7 separate regions of the Homo sapiens genome follow, and regions 2, 3, 4, 5, 6 and 7 are each linked to region 1. The links are contacts of gene promoters, found by promoter capture Hi-C in human tissues and cell types (Jung and others, 2019). All regions are on one chromosome and are shown on one strand. The core of a region is centred on a gene start or on the middle of the fragment in contact, and the rest is flanking DNA. Distances in the headings are between cores, read along the strand shown. Region 1 holds the start of SPDL1 (spindle apparatus coiled-coil protein 1). Region 2 overlaps DOCK2 (dedicator of cytokinesis 2). Region 3 overlaps DOCK2 (dedicator of cytokinesis 2). Region 4 overlaps DOCK2 (dedicator of cytokinesis 2). Region 5 overlaps SLIT3 (slit guidance ligand 3). Region 6 overlaps DOCK2 (dedicator of cytokinesis 2). Region 7 overlaps SLIT3 (slit guidance ligand 3).

The links. The method cuts DNA at HindIII sites, captures the fragments that hold promoters and counts their contacts. A contact is called where the count stands out against the background at its distance.
Region 2: a fragment that was not itself captured here is called in contact with the fragment with the promoter of SPDL1 in region 1 in 1 of the 25 tissues and cell types used here (mesenchymal stem cells).
Region 3: a contact is called between a fragment that was not itself captured here and the fragment with the promoter of SPDL1 in region 1, in 1 of the 25 tissues and cell types used here (lymphoblastoid cells).
Region 4: a contact is called between a fragment that was not itself captured here and the fragment with the promoter of SPDL1 in region 1, in 1 of the 25 tissues and cell types used here (mesenchymal stem cells).
Region 5: a contact is called between a fragment that was not itself captured here and the fragment with the promoter of SPDL1 in region 1, in 1 of the 25 tissues and cell types used here (mesendoderm cells).
Region 6: a fragment that was not itself captured here is called in contact with the fragment with the promoter of SPDL1 in region 1 in 1 of the 25 tissues and cell types used here (IMR-90 fibroblasts).
Region 7: a fragment that was not itself captured here is called in contact with the fragment with the promoter of SPDL1 in region 1 in 4 of the 25 tissues and cell types used here (H1 embryonic stem cells, bladder, mesenchymal stem cells and 1 more).

Annotation. Positions count from the first base shown.
Region 1 is chr5:169,582,224-169,585,242 of GRCh38, forward strand. SPDL1 (spindle apparatus coiled-coil protein 1) reads left to right here and starts at 1,550. Exons shown (of 12, transcript NM_017785.5): 1 at 1,550-1,666. It overlaps LOC105377714 (a long non-coding RNA gene), which reads right to left and starts at 1,438. Exons shown (of 3, transcript XR_941200.3): 1 at 1,160-1,438. RefSeq lists an enhancer at 1,177-2,177. The HindIII fragment of the contact is 9,913 bases long and covers 1-3,019 here.
Region 2 is chr5:170,066,856-170,069,874 of GRCh38, forward strand. It overlaps DOCK2 (dedicator of cytokinesis 2), which reads left to right. Exons shown (of 52, transcript NM_004946.3): 45 at 655-831; 46 at 2,282-2,365. Among named protein-coding and RNA genes, the nearest start is that of FOXI1, 38 kb to the right of the region's middle. The HindIII fragment of the contact is 5,135 bases long and covers 1-3,019 here.
Region 3 is chr5:170,023,910-170,026,928 of GRCh38, forward strand. The region is part of intron 33 of DOCK2 (dedicator of cytokinesis 2); the gene reads left to right. Among named protein-coding and RNA genes, the nearest start is that of MIR378E, 3.1 kb to the right of the region's middle. The HindIII fragment of the contact is 3,278 bases long and covers 1-3,019 here.
Region 4 is chr5:169,985,363-169,988,381 of GRCh38, forward strand. It overlaps DOCK2 (dedicator of cytokinesis 2), which reads left to right. Exons shown (of 52, transcript NM_004946.3): 29 at 466-560. Among named protein-coding and RNA genes, the nearest start is that of INSYN2B, 6.4 kb to the left of the region's middle. The HindIII fragment of the contact is 6,880 bases long and covers 1-3,019 here.
Region 5 is chr5:169,196,155-169,199,173 of GRCh38, forward strand. All of the region lies in intron 3 of SLIT3 (slit guidance ligand 3), which reads right to left. Among named protein-coding and RNA genes, the nearest start is that of MIR585, 66 kb to the right of the region's middle. The HindIII fragment of the contact is 6,366 bases long and covers 1-3,019 here.
Region 6 is chr5:169,958,972-169,961,990 of GRCh38, forward strand. All of the region lies in intron 27 of DOCK2 (dedicator of cytokinesis 2), which reads left to right. The region is part of intron 1 of INSYN2B (inhibitory synaptic factor family member 2B); the gene reads right to left. Among named protein-coding and RNA genes, the nearest start is that of INSYN2B, 20 kb to the right of the region's middle. The HindIII fragment of the contact is 5,702 bases long and covers 1-3,019 here.
Region 7 is chr5:169,286,719-169,289,737 of GRCh38, forward strand. The region is part of intron 1 of SLIT3 (slit guidance ligand 3); the gene reads right to left. Among named protein-coding and RNA genes, the nearest start is that of SLIT3, 13 kb to the right of the region's middle. The HindIII fragment of the contact is 5,750 bases long and covers 1-3,019 here.

The sequences.
Region 1 (3,019 bases), core at 300-2,799:
ATAGGAAGAAACATTAATAACATAGGGTATACCTTCTCTTGTAACAAAGGAGAAAAAATAAGTTCAGATCGATTTTAGATTACCTAATTGCAGCCAGTCATGATTGGCCTAAGCTAGAACAATCTTTTCCTGGCCCCTGAGTTAAGGAATCTTTGTTCAGTGATAGGGAAAATGGTATTTGTTTCATTTCTCCAAGAACATAGGTGTGATTACAAATGAATGAGCATCTGGTTCATTGGAGTCCCAGATAAATCTGTGAGACAACACTGTGAGCAATTTGTTGCCAATCTTAAAGCTCAGATCAACCCTTTGAGTCTGGCTTAGCTCAGGCAGAAATTGTAGTCTGCAAAAGAAACTGAGAAGAAGAGGGCAAGGAGAGTGTGGCATCCCAAGACATAAAGACTCAAATCAATGAGAGCAAGCAACTCTGTCAAATTTCACCAGAAGTGAGGACTAAATATTGACTACCGAATTTTGCAAGGTAGGAATCACTGGTAAACCTAACAAGAGCCACTTCATAGTATTGGTTGGGACCAAATCCTGGTTAAAGTGGGAAAAACAAACAAAAGAACAAAAGGTAAGAAAATGGAGATAATGGATGTAAAGATTTTTTTTCCCCAGAAATTTTGTTATAAAGAGAAGAAAACAAATGGGGTGGTTGCCGATTGGTGTCAAGGAGGATTTTTTAAAAAATGAAATCATGAAATGATTTTATGGCAATCACTGCAGCATGTTTATGAACTGATAGGGAAGATCCAATAGAGAAGAAAAAACTGAAGATGCAAAAAAGAGCAGTTAGAGCCAAGTTCTCAAATAGGCAAGAAAAGATGGGCTCGAAAGAACGACATGATTCATGTAACAGTTACTAGGACTCATCAGTGCTCATTAAATGTTATCTATTATTATTTCTGATCGCTTCAATTTTTGAATAGGCATCAGGGTTACAAAATATTATTATTAAAAACACATGCAAACAGCTTGGACTCTAAGACTGCATTCAATTCTAGTTCTACCACTTGGACAAGGCACTTTTTTTCTTCGGGCTTTTTCTCTGTAGAAAACGAGGAGTAATATCTGCCTCATAAGGCTGCGGGCTTAACTGAGATAATCTGTAAACTTTAACACATGGTGGGAACTTAAATATTAACGCCAGTATTACCACTGGTAGGGTGCATGAGATCGCACGATGGTGCCAAAGGTGTCTCTCCACCGCCCAGCCCAGCGACACTGTTCCCCTAGAAGGCATTGTCGTAAAAACAAAAAAAAAAAAAAAACGAACAAACAAAACACCAAAACACGGAAACTAAAAGCAAATACTTAAAAGACATGCAGGAAACCAGCCCAAGGAAAAATTTATGTGGAGCCACGTCTGCGCCTGCGCCTGCGCCAAGCCCACGGCGCGCCACTTGCACATGCGCAGTAGCTGTAGGAGGGGGTGGGCGCTCCATTGGGCGTTTCTCTTGGTTTTTCCTTTCCGCGCGGCTTGGGCGGACGTCTCGTGAGACGTGGGACTTCTCGCGGGAACTGCATTCAAATATCCCAGGCGCTTACTCGAGAGCTAGCTGAGCGAATGGGCCGGCGACTGTGGAGTTAGCGTCCTCAATGTGGACGCCCTGAGCTCCCATTAGGAGCCGCTGGCTGCGGCAGCAGGGGACTAGCGTGAGAGGTAGGGGCAAGGGGCCTGGTGGGAGGTGGGTGTGGAGAGCGGCAGTGGGGAGAGTCGAACAGGCCCTAAAGAAAGCTAGGGGCCGGGGTCTCGGCCGAGGCCTTTAGCTGAAACATCTCCTTCCCCGGAACCCTGGGGTCTTATACACTGGGTTCCGAGCCGGTCTTATCTTCCGCTGGACCACCTCGCCGCCCTCAGGGATTCTGGACAAATATGGAACGTTGGGTCGGTTGCCGGGTCCTCAAAATTATAACCGCCACTGGATCTGCGCTGTGCGGTACGGTAGCCTCTAGCCCGAACTAAGAAATGGTGCAGATGGGAGATACATATTGGGTTTCAGAGATAGCGCATAAGGAGTAATATCTCATTAATAATTTTTATAATGATTACATGTTGAAATGATGTTTTGAGTGTATTTGTTTAAATATGTAAATTAATTTTTCATCTTTGTTTACTTTTTAAATCATGATGGCTCCTAGAACATTTAAAATCACGTACATGACTCGCGTTATATTTCTGCTGGACAGCACTGCCCCAGCCGTGTGTCAGATTCTACCCTAATTGCTTTTCATTCGTTATCTCATTTAATCCTTTCAGTAACCGATTAGGTGGGTGTTATTGTGCTTGTTTTTATAGATGATTAAACCAGAAATTAAATAACTTGTCCAAGTTCATGCAGCCAGTGAGTAGTGGAGGCGGGGTAAGAACTCAGGCAGTTTGATTCCCAGAGTTTCCTGTGTCCCAAATGCTTTGTGTGTGCTATATTTTTGAGAAGCAGGACAGGAAAAATGGTTGCAGCACCATGGTTTCTAGGTAGATTCTAGTTCCCATCACACTTCGCGTCTTAACTTGCGGGTAACCCTAAGCAAGTTACTTAAAACTTTCTATGCCTCAGCTTGCATGTGTAAAATGAGGGAAATACCTTCAACCTCTTGAAGTTGTTGAGAAGATTGAATAAGAATGTGTATAAAGCGGCCGGGTGCGGTGGCTCACGCCTGTAATCCCAGCTACTCGGGAGGCTGAGGCAGGAGAATGGCGTGAACCCGGGAAGCGGAGCTTGCAGTGAGCCGAGATTGCGCCACTGCAGTCCGCAGTCTGGCCTGGGCGACAGAGCGAGACTCCGTCTCAAAAAAAAAAAAAAGAATGTGTATAAAGCACCAAGCACAATGTCTGTCACACATTAGTAGTTTTTAATCAACCACGGCTATCTCTCTTTGTAGATTGATAGGTTAACTCTTTCTCATCCATTAGACCTCTGCTGAAAAGTTACTTCCTCAGGAAAATTTTTTTGTCCATGTTCCCTTCTACGCGCTGCCCCCCAGATTAGGACAGCTCCCCCTTGTTACAGGCTCA
Region 2 (3,019 bases), core at 255-2,754, 480 kb after region 1:
TGGCCTGCAAATCCTAAAATATTTACTATCTGGCCCTTTTACAGAAAATGTTTGCCGACCTCTACTTTAGGTTTCTACTCCAGATCTCATGCTCTTGCAAACTGCACTTTTTGCCGGTTAGCTTTTGATGGCACTCTGTTTATATCGCCTTCTAAGAGGTGTTGGACAGGTGTTCTGTTTAATTTTCCCAACTAAAGTGAATCTACCTTGGAACAGTGAACCCCTCTAACAACCAGTCTTAGGACCTACTATGTGCCAGGCTGGGTGCCCACATCGCAAGCTGCTCTAATCTCTCTGGCCAATAACTCACACATAGTATCTGCCCAACCAATACTGAAAGGGTTGAATTGGCATGTGTTTCACCCAGATAATAAGAAGAGAAAACCTTCTCTGGGGCACACTCAGCAGGTACCTGACACTTCCTGCTTCTGCCTCCCCAAAGAAATCCCTTTCTCACTAAGCAGAAAGCCAGCCTGTCTCTCCCCAGAGAGCAGACAGCCCCCAGAGCTCAGTAATTACAAGATCCTGTTACAGCCCCTTAGGGAGCATTGCCTCATTTGAATTCCCACCCCAAGTGAAATCAATACCAATAATATCTGTTTTTAAAGTGACTTAACTAAGGCCCTTTCTTCTTGGTGATCTCATTTTCAACAGACCACAATTAGTCCTCTGGAGAATGCCATAGAAACCATGTCCACGGCCAATGAGAAGATCCTGATGATGATAAACCAGTACCAGAGTGATGAGACCCTCCCCATCAACCCACTCTCCATGCTCCTGAACGGGATTGTGGACCCTGCTGTCATGGGAGGCTTCGCCAAGTATGAGAAGGTGAGGATTTCTGTTCTCCAAGTCTAGGGGAGCTCGGTGAGCAGAGCAGTGGTGGGAGGACCCAGGGGGCAGATGCAGGTACATGTCACTTATCCTACTTTGACTGTCCTTGTCCCCAGAGGGACCCTCAGCTTGGTTGGCCCTCATGTTTCTATAGCCTCATGTCTTAGCTGAGCTCCTGTCTTCCTCCCAGCCTCTTTTCCATACCCTGTGCTGGGGCAGGGAGGGGCAGGAAGGGGCAGGGGTCATAAGGTCCCCTTATCTCACTGGGCAGATTCAGGTGGCTCTATTAAGGAAAGGCTCTGGGATGAGTGTGAGCCAGACCATAAAAGTACGTGCCAGTTGTATAAACCCACCTCTTCCACAGAGGATGTGAAATGATGTATACTAATGGAAAGAAATGAAACTCAGAATCTGTGAAAAGCCATAAAAACTAAGAGATCAACTCCAAAAGGGGAGCTATAATCTAGATATCAAGGTCATAAGGTCCCTCCAGAAAGCCCCACATGTTTGAGCCACAGATTTATTTTTGAGCTTCCTGGTGTTCACGGCAAAAAAGGAAATAGCATCACTTATATGAGTTACATTATCCACTGGAAGGAAAAATACCCATTTCTCAGTAAGGATACGTAGCTGTTCTTGGCATTGAAATAGAGTAGAAAGTTCTTACTTGGTTTTCACCTAGCAGACACTGAAGGAAAAATGAACTCCTCATTCTAACAAATCTTTTGATGAATTCCCTATTATCTTTCCTATGTTATCCATTGATGTAAAACTAAGAATACCACACAGTAGTATAATTTGGGGACAATAATTCCAGTCACCTAATCAATCCTTCCAACTACCCTCAGATACCCATGCAGTCATCATTGGTAACCCTTTGCTCAGCCTTGAGCAGTGATGGGATATGTCTGTTTATACATGAGCACACACTAAGGACATGAGCCCCAGAAAGGGGCTGCCAGGGTCACTTGCAATGAGGGAGGCCATGAGGTGAGCTGGAACACCCACCAGTGAGATTCCTTACTGAATTATTTTCCACAGAGCAATGTTCTCAAACTTGAAAGGAGCATCAGAATCCCCTACAGTGCTTCCTGACACACGGGTCCTCACCCCACCCCCAGAGTTTCTGATTCAGGCTGTCTGGGCTGGGGCTAGAGACTTTGCATCTCTAACAAGTTCCAAAGTACTGTTGCTGCTACTGGCTCAGGAACCTGACTTTGAGAACAGCTTCCCCAGAGTTTGCAGCCCATTCCCACTGGGTGCTGATCTGAGCCTCAAAGCAGATAAAACAATGTCAGTCTCTCCAGACCTGTTACTCTTGTTCCATCCACATGCCTGTGACCTCATCCTTGCCCCTTTCAAATTGAATCTTCTCCCAGTGCCAAAGAGATTGGCTGTGAAATGCCACATGAACAGGAAACCCTGACCTCCTATCTGTCCTCCCCAGGCCTTCTTCACTGAAGAGTATGTCAGGGACCACCCTGAGGACCAGGACAAGCTGACCCACCTCAAGGACCTGATTGCATGGCAGGTGAGGCAGCGCTGGCCAGGGGAGCATGCTGCTCTCCTTCCTCTCCCCCCACCGTGGTTCACTTGCCCCACGCTAGGCTCTAGCTGAGGCAGCCTGAATTCACATGCCCTCCTGTCCCTTGCTTTTCAGCCCCTCTTCCAACTCTGTATCACACCTGAGCAGGTTCATCCTGGAACAGAGATTTGGGGCATCGCACTCTTGGGTGTTGCATGGTGCCAGGCAGCAATGCTATGCTGGATGGTGCCAAGATTATCTTATTTGATGTTGAATTCAGGGGATGGCTTTTCACAGCGGGATGCAAATAAACACCAGGCCCCCACACTCCAAACCAGCACCTTCCCCCGACACCCAGCACAGGCCAATCTGATAATAGAAGACTTGAGCCCCTACTCCCACTTCTCCTCCTTTTAGAGCTGACCCACTTTGTTGCAATAATGCTCAGATGGATATCAGGTTTTGAAAATAATTGAGGCCTTTGTGTGGGTGGTTGTGAGTCAAAGGGTCTACATCCCACACAAGCCGCTGCTCAGCCCACGGGCTTAGAAGTTACCACCCTGCTGTTTCGGGCTGGCCACTTACCTGCCTCTCCTTCCATTCTCTCTTTGCATCCCTCTTCTTCCTGTGGACTCTGTCTTTCCTCCTTTCTCTCTTTCT
Region 3 (3,019 bases), core at 143-2,642, 440 kb after region 1:
GAAAACATTCTAGGAGAACAAGATGATAAAAATAGCCAAGATATTCTAAAGCAGCCAGGAGAGGCAAGAGAAGCAATGCAGGGAAGGCATGAAGCAAACACGAGGCCCATATCAGGCCAGTCTCCTGGAAGAGGGAGGCCCAGGCAGAAGGTTTGGGCTCCTGGAGTCCACTCCTCCTTTCTCGATTAGAGCTTCTCAAGATTTGTATTGGGCCTCTGTAGAATCTGACTTCTGTAGTGGCTCAATACAAATCTGTGGATACTCATTAGCAAACATCCACCTCGCAGCAGTGGGGTAAGGAGTCAATGATGTGATGCAGTCATGTAGCTGTGGATGAAAATGGAAGTAATTTGGAGAAGCCAGAGCTACATCCTCAACTCTGGATGGTGACAGTGTTGGGGGTAAGGACTGTTGCAGCATCATGATGGAGTGTATGTTTGGGAGAGCCTTTTTTTTTTTTTTTTTTTTTGAGACAGAGTCTTACACTCTGTCACCCAAGGTCCTACGTTGCCTCAGCCTCCTCATTTGTAACATGGGGATGATGACATTCTTCTCCCTTGGCTGTTGTAAAGATTAAATGAGAGTATGATGCCTATGATGATGACAATGACAATAGCATGATGAGCTTTGCTAACAATTATTGAGCACTTACTATGTGCCAAGTGCCTTATACGTGTGTTTGCCCTTTAATTTGTTACAGTACCACTATGAAGGAGATGCTATTTCAAATCTCCATTTAATAGATGAGCACATTAAGCCTTAGAAATGTTTATTAACTTGGCTAAGGTCACAGGGCTGGGAAAAAAGTCAAAGCAAGACTCAAACCAAGTCTATTCAATGCCACAGACTGTGAGCATAGCCATTTCTGAGCACAGTACTGACCCTGGGATATGCCTGACTGAGACCTTACCCCTCCAGCTCACCCCAAGGGCTCAGGCATGGTGGTATGGTATCATTTGTCTCACACACTCCCTGGAACCCTGTAATTTCCCTCCTGGCAGGCTCTTTTGTGATCCTGAGACAAGTGCTTATTTACCTCAACCACTTCTGTGCTCCAAAGAAAAGTTCAGCTCACCAGGAAGAATCATGCCAGCATTTCCCAGTGAACCACTCAGACAAGAAAAAATGCACTTTTCTCCCCCTGCGCTGCTTTCTAGTAACATTCGGCAGTAATAACAATAACATTAGTGGTGATGACAAGTCGAGGGACACAGCACACACTTAATGTTAGGCACTTTGCTAGTGCTTTACATATAAAATCTCTGTGCCCTATAGCTACTCCACACTGTAGGTACTACTGTTATGCCCATTGTATTGATAAGGGGTAGACAAACTCTGGCCCACAGACCAAATCCATCCTTCCACCTGCTTTTGTAAATAAACTTTTATTGGACTACAGCCATGCCAATTTGTGTATGTGTTGTCTAGGGCTGGTTTTGTGCTACAGCAGCAGAGTTCAGTAGTTGTCACAGAGACCATCTGGCCTCCAAAGCCTAAATTATTTACTGTCTGGCCCTTTACAGGAAATGTTTGCCAGTCCCTGATCTAAATCCTGACCCTGAGGATTAGAAAGACCTACCAGCTTTCCCAAGATGGCAGAGGGAAGCGGTGAGGGATTTAAAGCCAGACAGCCGCACAGCAGACTCATTGTATAGCCCCTTAGCTGTATTTCTTCCTGCTCTAGGCTTGGCAGAGAAGACATCTCTAAGCATGATAGTCCCCAACCCTTGACATTGGATAATATTCAACACAGACATAATGCTTGACAGGATGCACCATAGAAGGGACGTGATTCATTTGCAGACTGGCAGTCTAGACTCTTGCCACACTGGGTCTCATCTAGGTGTCTGTTCCCTCCCTCCCTCCCTCCCTCCTTCCCTCCCTTCCTTCCTTCCTTCCTTCCTTCCTTCCTTCCTTCCTTCCTTCCTTCCTTCCTTCTTTCCTTCCTTCCTTCCATTTGTCCGTCCATCCATTCTTCTCTGCTCAAGCTGAACTGCTGTCTTCATTTTTCTCCACGTTCCCACCTCGACAGCTTTGCTCACACCGTTTCCCCCATCTGGAATGCCTTCCTTTTCACATTTATCACAGTCCTACCCATTTTTCCAGGCCCGGTATATCTCCTTCAATAAGTCTTCCCCAACTGAGGCAACTCACCGGAAATTCTTTGGCATTTGTGCTGTATCAGCACAAGCTTTTGGTCCCTCCCTTAGATCCTTTGTGCACAAAAGTGAGGGAACGATGGCATCACGGATGATGTGTGAACCAGAGGGAAGAGCAAATGTGGTCCCTGCCTTTTCATCACCTAAAGATTCCAACTCCATGGAGCTCTATCCTTTATGCCCAGGAAAGAGCCTGCCAAAGGTCTCTGCCATTCATCTAAGACTTTAGACAGGTCACTTAAACTCCCTGAGCCTCTACTTCTTCATCCGTAATAATAACTGACACCGAGGGTTGTACCAAGCAAGGGCTGGCTGCTCTTCATGCATTGTCACATTTAAAGGTGATCCGTGACCTCCAGACTTCATGAAGTATTATGAAGACCGGGTGTAAAGAGGTCAAGTTAGAGGTCAGGACTCCCCAAGTCCTCTTTTGGTCTTGGTGACCTTTGCGAAGCTCCCCTTTCCCTCTCCAGGTGCCAGTTTATTTTTTAATGGTAAAATGAGGGAAGGGTGGACTGCATGATTTGGATGGACTCTTCAGGGTATAATACTAAAATAGTAAAAACCATTTTGCAACAAAATCATGTTAAAAAGACGTTGGGTGACTTCAAAACAATGCGTTGAATAAGCCATGCACTCCAGTGGGTGAAATGCTTCTTAACATGGAAAGTAGGGAGACAAAGCATTCTGTGGCTTCAATGCAACAAGATTTGGTGGAACTGTAAATGGATACTTGCTTTCTGATCACTTACCTAATCTGATCTCTGATCATTACCATTGTCACCAGTCTTGACTCTCTGAGACCTGACATTTGCTCCATGTTTTATGAGTATTTTTCATCATTTCTTTGGTTGCAGGGA
Region 4 (3,019 bases), core at 182-2,681, 400 kb after region 1:
GTGTGTGTGTGTGTGTGTGTGTGTGTGTGTGTATGTGTGTGACATATGAATTAGCTGTATTTACAGCACTGCTAATTAGATGTTCATTTTAATAAGAGTTTATTTGCTCAATGACCTGAGATGCTTTCATACAGTGAGATTATTTCCTTCTCAAATACATATTTGTGAAAATGATTATAAAATTGCCACATCAATGAGTACATTTACTTCTTTATTCCCAAAGATGGAATTAATAGTGCTTTATTTTGAGAACATTTTCGCATCCCATATTCATGTTCCACTGACATTTGGGAAACAGCATTCCAGCATTCAATCTTTAAGCTTCCATTTAATTTAGTTAATGAAAGGCTGTGTCCCTTCCCTTTTCCTCCCTCCAAAATATAATAGCAAAAAAATTTGAAGAGCCAACAAGCTCTGAGTTCCTGTAAAACAGGATGACATGTGTGCTGTGCTTCATTGTTTCAGGACTTCTTGATGGAGACCTTCATCATGTTCAAGGACCTCATTGGAAAGAACGTGTACCCTGGAGACTGGATGGCCATGAGCATGGTTCAAAACAGGTGAGCTGCTACCTGCTTCCGCAAAGCTACCTTACCCAGCCCTCACTTCAAAGATCACTTATTTTGGGTTAAATTAGGGACAATTTCTCCTTGCTGAAAAGAAATTAAAGTGTTAAGGCATGCTTTCTTTCTATCTTTAAACCCAGGGAAGGACTCCTCACCAATCGAAGCTACTCAAAAAATCGTCTCCAACTTCTCCATTTTTCAAATCCCAGTTAGAATATCATACTTCATCTCTGAAGCCTTTCGTTCACTCTTGGGACAGGAGATCTTAGAAAAGCATTTTAAAAATATATTATTTTAATTTTTAAAAAGTAATAAAATATATTCTGTGACATGGTAAAATAAGTTTAGGAAGCATTAAATTAAACAGATTTGAACAGATTTCCATGCTGCAGGACTTCTTCAAGCTTTTAATTTGCTAATGTGATTTTTTTCTAAGAGGAGGATTTAGGGTACAGCATTCCATTTGCCCATCCATTTGCACATAGGATGTGCATTTGGTGTGTCTATGTGTGTATCTATAATACCCGTTAACATCTCCTACACTATCAGTGTAACCCAAGTATAGCTTAGATGTCCTATGGCCCAACACAACAAGAGATAAAAGTAATTCTAAACAATTTCAGTCTCTGCTCCTAGGTTTCTTATATCATTTCACCAAAGTAAAATCCAAATTATAACATTCATTAATCTTTTCTAATATTCCCTTGGGTTTATTTCTAATATTCCTTGGATTTCCCCAAGCCTCTCTCAGAACCTGATTCTCAAATCCTGCCGATCAGTTCCTTTAAAACAGCATCTTTTTGGTTCTTCTCTTTTCTTTCTCCCTGCTTTCCTTTGGCTTATTTTATTTGTTTTAAATTCTTTCATGGAAAGCCCTTCAACTTATACTGGTGTCTAGTTTTATCTCCCTCTACCTATTGTTCTTGTTTTATATCAAAAAACCAAGCATTGTCTGGCAAAGATAGAAATATCCCTAGAGGGCAGAATAAGGGGAGAAGTTAAAAAGACAAAATCAGAATTCTCTGAAGTGGAAGGGAAAGAGCAAACACTAACTCAAACTTGCCCAAGCAAAAAGAGAATGTATTGGCACAGATAACTGAAAGAGCCCTGAGGTGTGGCTTCAGGCATGGATGTATCTAGGTGCTCAAATAGCAATGTAGGGAATCTGTGTGTGTGTCTCTCTCTGCTTTTTCTATTTACTTGATTCTCAGGCAGATGCTCTCTTAGTGGGGAAAATGGGCTCTAGAAGTTGCAGATATATTCCTTGTTGTATTTTCAACCACAATAGAATGAAAAGGCTTCTTTTCCTATAGGTACAGAAAAAATCCTGAGGCCACTCTTCAAAGGTCTGGCCTGAGCTACATGCCCATCCATGGACCTCTGCGGCCAGCCAAATGAAATGTGCTATTAAGTCAGGCTTGGATTTCATGACCCGCCTTTGGAACTGGGTCAGTTCTACCAAAACCACAAAGTCAGGGAATAAGGAAAGAAGCAGAGAGAGTAGTTCTTCAAAGGAAAATCTAGAAGTTGTTACCAGAAAGAGGACTAAATAATGGGCAGGTGAATGCACAGATGTCCAGCCTTGATCCAGGGTCTTGGGGTTGGAGCCCTGGCCAGGCAACTTCCCCTTCTGAGCTGTCCACACGGTCCTTCTGGAAGAAACATGTGCTGGGTCCCATGGGAGTGCTTTGAAGGAATATTTCCTCCTGAAATCCCAGCTTCATTCAAACTTTAGTCATTTTTGGGAGAGGCCCCCAGAAATGATACAGTAATCCTTATTTCTTTATACCTAGAAAATTAGAATGTAATTTCCTAACGGACCTAATACATTGGAAATCTCTCCTAAATAGAAATCATAGATTTGTATCTCTTAAGGGTCAGCCAAGTACTTATGTTTTGTACATTAAAGAAAAAAGTTAGACTCTAGAACACAGCCTGGGCTTCAGACTCTTTAATTCTGCCACTTTCTCTTTCTTGGGAAGTCATTTAACCTCTTGGAGTGTTAGTTTCCTAGTCTGTAAAATGGGGATAATGGTAGTTTCTATTTCATGAAAATTGCTTTGTGTGTACGAGGATAGAATGAGTTACTCCTTAGCACAGTGCCAGGATCAAGGAAAATATCAATAATAATAGCGTTGCCATCACTAGGTGATGACAACAAACTTAGCTTTAGACTAAAGAAGCATGTGTTAATGTCAACCAGAAAAGATTGCTTTTTTCTGCTTGCAGGCACATAGCTTAGTTCGAAGATTTCCTGCATCTTCTGGCCAAAATGATCTCTTATGTTTATAGAACACATGAAATGTTCTCACTATTTTTGCATTTTGTATATTATAATAGCTAACATTTATTAAGTACCGAGATCCATCACTGTTGCAAAGGCTTTACATGAAATTAGTTCATTTAATCCTCCCAACAACTTTATAATGTAGAACAACTATAATCCACGCATT
Region 5 (3,019 bases), core at 336-2,835, 390 kb before region 1:
AAAGTAGAAAAAAAAAAAGAGGGGGACTCCAGGAAGAGGAGGATGAGGCAACATCTATTTTTATGTTTTGAGTAGTTCCCATGTACTCAGCGATAACAGGTGGAAGCCGTTGGAACTGGAGAAGGCTTGATGTGATGTATGTGGGATTCACCGGGGCTGGGCACAGGTCTGGCTATATTGTGCTCTTGCTGTGGGATCTGAAGCAAGCTATCTAGCCCTTTGGACCTCAGTTTCAGATCTGCAAAATGGGTTACAGTGAGTCTTAAATGACACAGTGTCTACGCAAGCGTTCAGCACTGCAATAAGAGCATGACAACAGTGATGATAATGGTATGGATTGAGTTCTACATGCATGTCAAACGCCATGCCACGTGCTACACAGGCAGGATCATAACTGCAGCAGTGCTCATGGTAGGTGTCATTATTAATCCTGTCTCATACAGAATGAACCTGAAGCCTGGGGAGGTCAAGCCATCCCCAAGGCCACAATGTCAGGAAGTGGTAGTGGCAGGATTTGCACCCAGTCGGTCAGACTCCAGAGCTCTAGTTCTGAACCACCATGCTACTCAAAGCCTTTCAATAAACAACAGCTCCCTCTCCCTTTCCCTTTCTTAATTTTTCTGTTTCTTTTCATCCAGAGTTGCCACTTCCTCCAACCCATCCAAGGCAATGAACCACCCTGTGTACATTGCCTTCCCTGGAAAGGAACTCTCTTGGAGGTCCCTAAGGCAAGAACTGAGTCTCTATGTGGGTCTGTCTGGAACCACCCTCTATTGTCACAACTGTACAAAGTCTTTTAAGAGTTATATTCAGAGAACCAACACTCCATTCCAGGCAAAAATCCTAAAACCCAGCTTGCTGCTGTCTTCAGTGAGTAGGGTGTTCGGTTTGCTGAAAACCCTAAACCAGAGTTGAAGCTAAAAATAAAACCAGCTTGGCTCCAAGGCTCCTGGAAGGGAAGGAATCATTTTCAGTTTTTTGCCGGTATTTGTGGCTGGACAAAAATAAAAATATAACTAAATTTAGCCAATTGTGTGCTGCCCACTGCTTCATAAACCCTGAATGAGGATTCTGGGACAGATGGGTGGGGCTCTGCTCCCAAAAGCCTTGGGACCTTTCCACTTAAGCTCGAGCAGGTCGCCTGCTGGTTCTCAATATCAGAAGGAGCTAGATACTGTATTTCCAGGTAACTCCAGGATTTACTCATATTTACTGAGTAAATATGGGCCTGGAAAGTCTTCCTTGAAAAGATGATGAAGGCTCCAAGCTGCATAAGGTACACTTCCCATGTGGCTTCTGTGAAAGCAGCCCCTCAACAGGAAAATGAACAGAATGAGACATGCTGTTCTCCTGATAAACAGGTAAGTGCCGGGTGCAGACAGTGGCTATTGGCCATGGTACACTCATGCCATCTGCTGTTCTGTTACTCTGGGTCCAGAGGTGGAGATCTCCTGCCATAGTTCAAGCTGGAAGTAAATCCATGATTACTGAATGGAGAACAGGACTGAATGGAACTCATATGAGGACAGAACTGAGGAAGTCAGCAAATGAGATGTGGGCCAGGGCAATGACAGGATAAGGCCTTCCTAGGTATTCCCTCTCCCACTAAGATCAAAACTCCTCAGCTTTCCTGATGCAACAATGGGGAGCATAAAGGTAAAAAAAAAACCAACTGGCTGCTGAGTTGCAAAGCCATACTGCTTTTCAGCCTGAATTGAGAAGCACTAAGAAATAGGCCCTTGTCTTTGTGGAACCACTAAAGGCCTTTCTAGATGTACCTGGGTGTAAGATATAAATAGAAGTTTTTGCCACTTCATCGAACCCATCCATGTATCCATTCAACCATTCATCCATCCAACTGTTCATTTATCTGTACATCCAACCACCATCCATCTATGCATCAACCAACCCATCTACCCAAGCATTCACTCATCCGTCCAACCACCATTTACCCATCCATCCATTCTTTCATTTCTCCAGTTTTTCAATATGAACATACAAAAATGAATAAGATACAGCCCCTTCTTTTAAAAATGTCATATGCTAGTGAAGAAGACAGACCTGAAAACAAAAAATTGCCATGTTCTTGAAAGCGAAGGTGTCGTGGGAACACAATGGAGCAGCAGCTAACCCAGTCCTTGTTAAAAGAAGGCTTCCCAAGGAAGATGGTTTTGAGTTTAGTTTTAAAGGATGACTAGAACTCTTTAGGAGACAGAGGTGGAGACTTCTAGACTGAGAGAGCAGTATGTGCTCTGTACTCCATGGAGGGCCAGGAGACAGGAGCATTTGGGAAGCAGGCTTGCACTGCTAGAACACAGAGGTGACCTGCGAACACAAGTGATGAAGGTGTACAACTAGGCAGCAGTCATACCACAAAGGGCCTTTTTATCCATAATAAAGAATTTGGGTTTGGCTTTTTACAGATAGTAAGAGGGAGCCAGAGAAAGGGTTTGAGCAAGGGAGTGATAATCTGGTTTGAATTTTAAAAAGTTCTCCTGGCCGGGCGTGGTGGCTCATGCCTGTAATCCCAGCACTTTGGGAGGCCAAGGTGGGCAGATCACGAGGTCAGGAGCTCGAGACCAGCCTGGCCAACATGGTGAAACCCCGTCTCTACTAAAAATATAAAAATTAGCTTGGCATGGGGATGCACATCTGTAATCCCCGCTACTCGGGAGGCTTAGGCAGGAGAATCACTTGAACCCAGGAGGCAGAGGTTGTGGTGAGCTGAGATCACACCACTGCAAGCCAGCCTGGGCAACAGAGCAAGACTCCAACTCAAAAAACAAACAAACAAACTATACACACACACACACACACACACATATGTGTGTATATTTATATATATATATATAAATACACACACACACACACACACATACATACATATACACATGTCTCCTGAGTAGCAGTAAGCCCAGTTTGGAGGAGGTTGAAATCGGAAGCAGGAAAACCAGTTAAAAGTGTTCTTGGGTAACTAGTGTCTCTGCATGAAGACCTAATTAAGGATAACAGTGCAGCT
Region 6 (3,019 bases), core at 132-2,631, 380 kb after region 1:
AAATCAAACAGCTCCCGTTAGTAAACTACTAACTTATAAAGTATTTAAGCCTAGGACTGGGCAGAAACAACATATGAAAATGTAGGTAGCATTGCAGAATATTCTGATGAGTAGAAATCATGTATAAAAAGCACAAACTGGCTGGGCATGGTGGCTCATGCCTGTAATCCCAGCACTTTGGGAGGCCGAGGGGGGCGGATCATGAGGTCAGGACATTGAGACCATCCTGGCTAACATGGTGAAACCCTGTCTGTACTAAAAATACAAAAAAAATAGCTGGGCGTGGTGGTGCACGCCTGCAGTCCCAGCTACTTGGGAGGCTGAGGCAGGAGAATCGCTTGAACCTGAGATCACACCACTGCACTCCAGCCTGGGTGACAGAGAGAGACTCCGTCTCAAAAGAAAAAAAAAAAAGGAACAAACTATTCCCAACAACTCTAGGGGAGTCCAGAAGATCATTCTGCAGAAGTAGAACTGGTGTGATGGCTTGATGTTACCAAAAAGAAGTTTATGGTTCAACATAAGGAAGAACTTTCTAACAATTCTAATAGTCCACAGGGTGATGGAATTTCTGATTAGGTAGAGATTTCTCTCTCTTTGGAATCTTGCAAGCAGAGGTCACTGAATCTTTTATTGGGAATGCTTCACAGAGGATCATGCATAAAGGTAAGTGTTGGACTAAAGGACTTTAGGGAGTCCGTCCAGTTCTCAGGTCTCCAACTGTGTGTTACTTGGCCTTGACTAGATATTTTACTAACAGGTGCCATCCTAGTTATTCCACATCCTTAGAGTCATCGTAGATCTAGAGAGATCTAGAAGTAGTTCTGTGGAAACCAGGTAGAATGCTCAGAGGGCAAAATAGGAAATACAACAATAGGATGGAAAAGAGGTTTGGCCAGGAAAAGAGGAAACAGAAGCACTTCAGAGAGCTGAGCCTGCAATATTTGGAAGGGGTGCAAACAGCTTGTTTGGTTTCTGTTGAGGTCCAGATAAGAGTAAATAGGTTAAATTAAATTCGACCATGTAAAGCTAGATCATCAGAGGCAGAGTGTCGGATCTCAGGCTATCAGTCCCTCAAAGAACTGCCTTTATTGAAGGTGGATGAGGGAACGGTCAGGTTGAGGAGCATTTTATGCTTTTGTGAAACTGATGAAGGCAAGGTCTACCCTGCCTCTCTGAGTTCTTTTATAAGTACCCATGATAAATTTCCACCAGTGTATAGTTCCAGAGGAGGAAATAATGTAGTTCCTACAGAAAGCTGTGTATGCCTTCCATGTCAAAAGATAAAACCTCTGTACATGGGTATCTTTGTTTTTCTTAGCTGTTAGAGAATTCAGAGACAGATCCTTGGGTATTTACATCTGCTCATTTATGGTGCCTGAAAGGTGCTATTTCTGGTTCTTGTAGCAGATGAACTCATTTCAGGCCATTGATAATATTAATATGTCTTGTTTTTCAGCCTGCCATTCATCTCACATCTTTTGGGAAGTGAGTAGGCTCAAATCTCATATACTCAAGATGAAATGGAATAAAAAGGAAAATTATTGATTAGAAAGAAACATGAGGTTCTAAGATAGGTTTTCAAGGTGGATTGGAGGATTTCTATCACTTAAAATGACCAATAATGGAGGGCCAGCCATTTGACTCAATATTCTTGGCCATCATTAGTCACCTGTACTTGTGTGGTAATATTCGGGTCTCTATATTGTTGTCCCCTCCTCCCACAATCCATGGTTTTACTTTCCATGGTTTGTTACTTGCAGTTAATTGTGGTCCAAAAATATTAAATGGAAAATCCACAGATAAATAATTCATAAGTTTTAAATTGTGTTCTGTTCTGAGTCATGTGATGAAATCCTACTCTCTTTGCCTAGGATGTGAATCATCCCTTTGTCCAGTATATTCACACTGTACAGGTATGCATGCATAGGAAAAAATCATAGTATATATAGGGTTCAGTATAGGCTATGAACTGAATATATATACTAGGGTTCATAGTATATATAGGTTCACTATCCATGGAGTCTTGGAACATATCCCTGAGGACTAAGAAAGACGACTGTAACTATCATGGTAAACACCCCAGTATATTGCATGAGTGAGTGATGGTAGTGAGACACTGTTTAGGTCAACCTGTTGCCCATTTGCAATTTCATGCATGTAGGGAGATCAGTCATATGTCCTACAATTGTCATTGGCCATAGATGAGGGGGCATAAATGGGTAGCCCCCCAAGGGCAATTAATGGATCATCATCATCTCTAACATTTCCACACCTAGGATAAATGCTGTCAGAGTTCTGGTATCTGTGAAGGTTTGTGGAATTAAATTAAGATGAATGGAATATAATTGAAGTGACTTGAACTACACTGAACAGAATTAAATTGAATTGCCTAGTCTTGCCTTGCATCAGGGGAATGTATTACCTTTGCCTGCTAATCAACTCTAACAACAGTGCAAGAATAAGTATAGCATGCTGAGCATAATGTTTGAAATTTAAACGTGTTCATTTTAAAACTATTGACTGTGCACCTTTTACATTCAGGCACTGTGTTGGATGCTGGGAAAACATGGTGGACTAAGCAGACATTTCTCTGCCTCAAGGAGCTCCACCTAGGAAAGGAGACAAGCACTAAACAAGTCTTGAATAAATAAATATCTAATTAAAATTGTGACAAGTGCTAAGAAGGACAAGTATAAAGTTTTTTAAGAAGAATAGAAGCCAGGCCGGGTGCAGTGGCTCACGCCCGTAATCCCAGCACTTTGGGAGGCCGAGGTGGGCAGATTACTAGAAGTTAGGAGTTCAAGACCAGCCTGGCCAACATGGTGAAACCCCATCTCTACTAAAAATACAAAAAATTAGCTGAGTGTGGTGGCAGGCACCTGTAATCCCAGCTACTCAGGAGGCTGAGGCAGGAGAATCACTTGAACCCAGGAGGCGGAGGTTGCAGTGAGCCGAGATCGTGCCACTGCACTCCAGCCTGGGTGAAAAAGTGAGACTCTGTCCCAAAAAAAAAAAA
Region 7 (3,019 bases), core at 351-2,850, 300 kb before region 1:
CCTCTCGACAAAGCTATTTTCCCCCCACACAACTACACACAGTCACATTTGGCAAGAGGTGCTATCAGCCCTGCTCTGCTCGTGAAATGCTGTTTTGCAATGGGGCCTCTTTGTTCGTTAGCAACACAGACAAAGAAAACTGTAGTGCAGTCTTCTTGGAAGAAGATGTTTCTTGTTTTAAAGACGGGAAGAGAGCTTCCTGACTGAATATGGCTTGAATCAGCATGCAGCTCCAGTCAGGAAAGAACCCAGAGGAGACTTAGGTCTTTGCAAAATTTCTAGAATGTACAAGGAGGGCACACGGCAGGGGGAAGCTTATGGGAAATGTTTCAGAAAGTACTAAAATGTATGCCTAAACAGAGTAAACAGAGCAGATTGGTTACCATCTTGTGCTATGAAGCAATTAGAAGGGGAGGGGTGTTGGTAGGGAACTAGAGTCATTAAAAGCTCCCATGAAGCAACTGGCCTTCCCATTTTTGGATTCCTGCTCCAGTCCTGGTTCCCAGTGTTCCTTCCCTTGCCGTTTTCTTCAGCTGGGATCTTCCCTCTCTAGACTCGAAATAAGCTGCAGGCTTGGTGCTGAGAGCCCTCAGGATATGATCTGCCATCCCGAGTCACCCATCTGGTGCCTCTCCCCTCTGCTTCCACATGATTCCCTATTTTTTTTTGTACTAGATGTGGTCCCTCTTCTGTCTCCCTAGCTTCCCAGATTGGCAGAGGCTTCCCATGGCTCTGCATGATCTTTGCACAGGATGAGGCAGAAATGAAGGCACCTTTTCATAAGGGCAGACCACACCAGGAAGCTGAGGTCCTCTCTGGTGACCTTTCTAATGCATTTCCCTTTGGAGATGGGTTGAGATCAGTGGGGAGGGAGTAGACCAGATGATCTCCAGTGATACCTCAAAAGCCTGAAAATCTCTTGGCTAGGGAAGCCAACAAGAGGGGGAGGAACAGAACCAAGTTCTGTGGCACAAATTCAGAACTTGTACGCTGGCAGCAGATGGAAAGGGAGGTGCCAGCTTCTAGCAGGAGGGGATGTGGTGGACGCGTTTCTCAGGGCGGTTGCAAGCCACAAGTCTTGCATTCCAAAGGACCTGGTGAATGCTGCCTGAGAACCTGCCTCTGACACAGCCACAGCATAGGTCTCCAGGCACCAGGTGAGATCTCCAAAAAGAAACTCCACTGGCCAAGTGAAGGTTCTTAGACCCTTTCTCCCAGAGCAGGGTCTTCCCCATCGCCTACCCCATGCTTAGGCAAACTTGCCCAAAGTACAAATTTTATTCCAAATCCCCCTCCCTCATTTTCCCCTAGGAAAATTCCTCCTGCTGAGTTAAACCTAAGAGAGAAAAATAAAGATATTACCACTCAGGGAAACAATGTCCTAGGGGTCCCTTGCAGCCGAGGAGGGGAAGGGAAGCTGGCCCCCTAAAGAAGGCCCTGTATCTCCTCATGGCCTCAAATGCTGCTGTGCTGTGTGTCAGTGTTTATGAAATGCTTCTCAAATAAGGTCAGTGTTCTACACAGAGTTAGAACTCTAATAAAATGCAGAACTTGTGCTGTTTGCCAGCTAGCTGCAGAGGCATACTTGAATGCTTTCTCAGATACAATTGTTCTCAGATTAATATTTCCCCCTTGAGTTTTTTTTTAATTCCACTTGTACTATTTTTTTATGATGTGGGAGGCTTTCTACATATTTGTACCCACTAAAAGGGATGAGGGGGCTTGCTTTCATCAATGATTCCTGAGGGTTTGGTGCTACATCCTTCATGGTTCTAGCATTTCTCCCAACCCATAAATCTCCCTGCTCTGAACCTAGCATGGTAGCCTTTGCCTTGTCAGTCATTTAGAGGGAGAGACAGTCCAGACTAACTTTGAAGTTAGTTTGAACTGTTCTAGTTACCAGAACATTTCACTTGCTTTATTCATTGTGGTAGACACTCAATAAATGGCCCCTTTAAATGACTCCATCCTTCATGGATTCCCTTATTTGGTCCTACTGTCTTGGACACTGTCACTTATTAATTACCCAGTCCTCTAAACTCCACCTGGTTAAGCTGCTGACATGGCTGGTATGAGGTTATATTTTAATTTGTAAAAGATGCATCTTGTTAAATGAAAAGGAAACTGGAACAAGAGTTTGAAGACATGGGTGACTCTGAGCAAGGCTTTGGAGCTCCCTGAGTTTCTTCATCTGTAAATGAAAGCTTCTAAAATATACCCTGATCGTCTTCCAGATACAGGATTTAGTGGTTCAATTCAGATATTGTGGGTGGACTCATTAAGGTATTCGCATAGCACTAAATTTAGAAGGCATTTGGAGACATCTGATCTCATTTAAACCTTGCATCAGCCCCCTGAGATGAGTGTTATTTCTCCCATTCCAAAGGTTATAGATGAGACTATGGAGACCGCAAAGGTACTCAGACAGGTCGGGCAGTTAGAAAGTGACAGAAGCCAGGATTCAGCCTAGGTCTTTCTACTCATTTCGGCTTACATCCAAATTGTACTCCCCCTTGGCTTCTCACTAATTCCACTTAGAATCCCCATACTCAGAACACTTTCTACCTACATTCTAGAGCTGGAGAGAGAAGAAGAGGAGAGAAAGAATGTCAGCAAAGTACTAGATAGTCCAGAAATTTCTGCAACACATTATTGAACAGGACAGCTCTCCAATGAGATCATCACTGCTGCGCTTTTTAATTACAAAATGATCTGTCCTATTTGGGATACAGGGAGTTCAGGAGTATGTCTAAGTAATTCATCATTTATAGAGTCCAGCCCTGGGGCACTTTTACATGCTACCCTGGACATGATAAAAGATTTCAGATGGCCATAAAGACGAAGTCTGAGGTTGTTTCCAGGGCAGAACTCTGAGTTCTTGCAAGTCTGCAGTCTCCAGTGAAGGTCCAGGCCATGAAATCCAATTTCAGGACCTGGGGTTCTGATGGTGACAGTCCAAATTCAATACTAAGGCTATGGAGAATACATAGAGGGCAGTAGAGGGCAAGAAGCCAAGCTA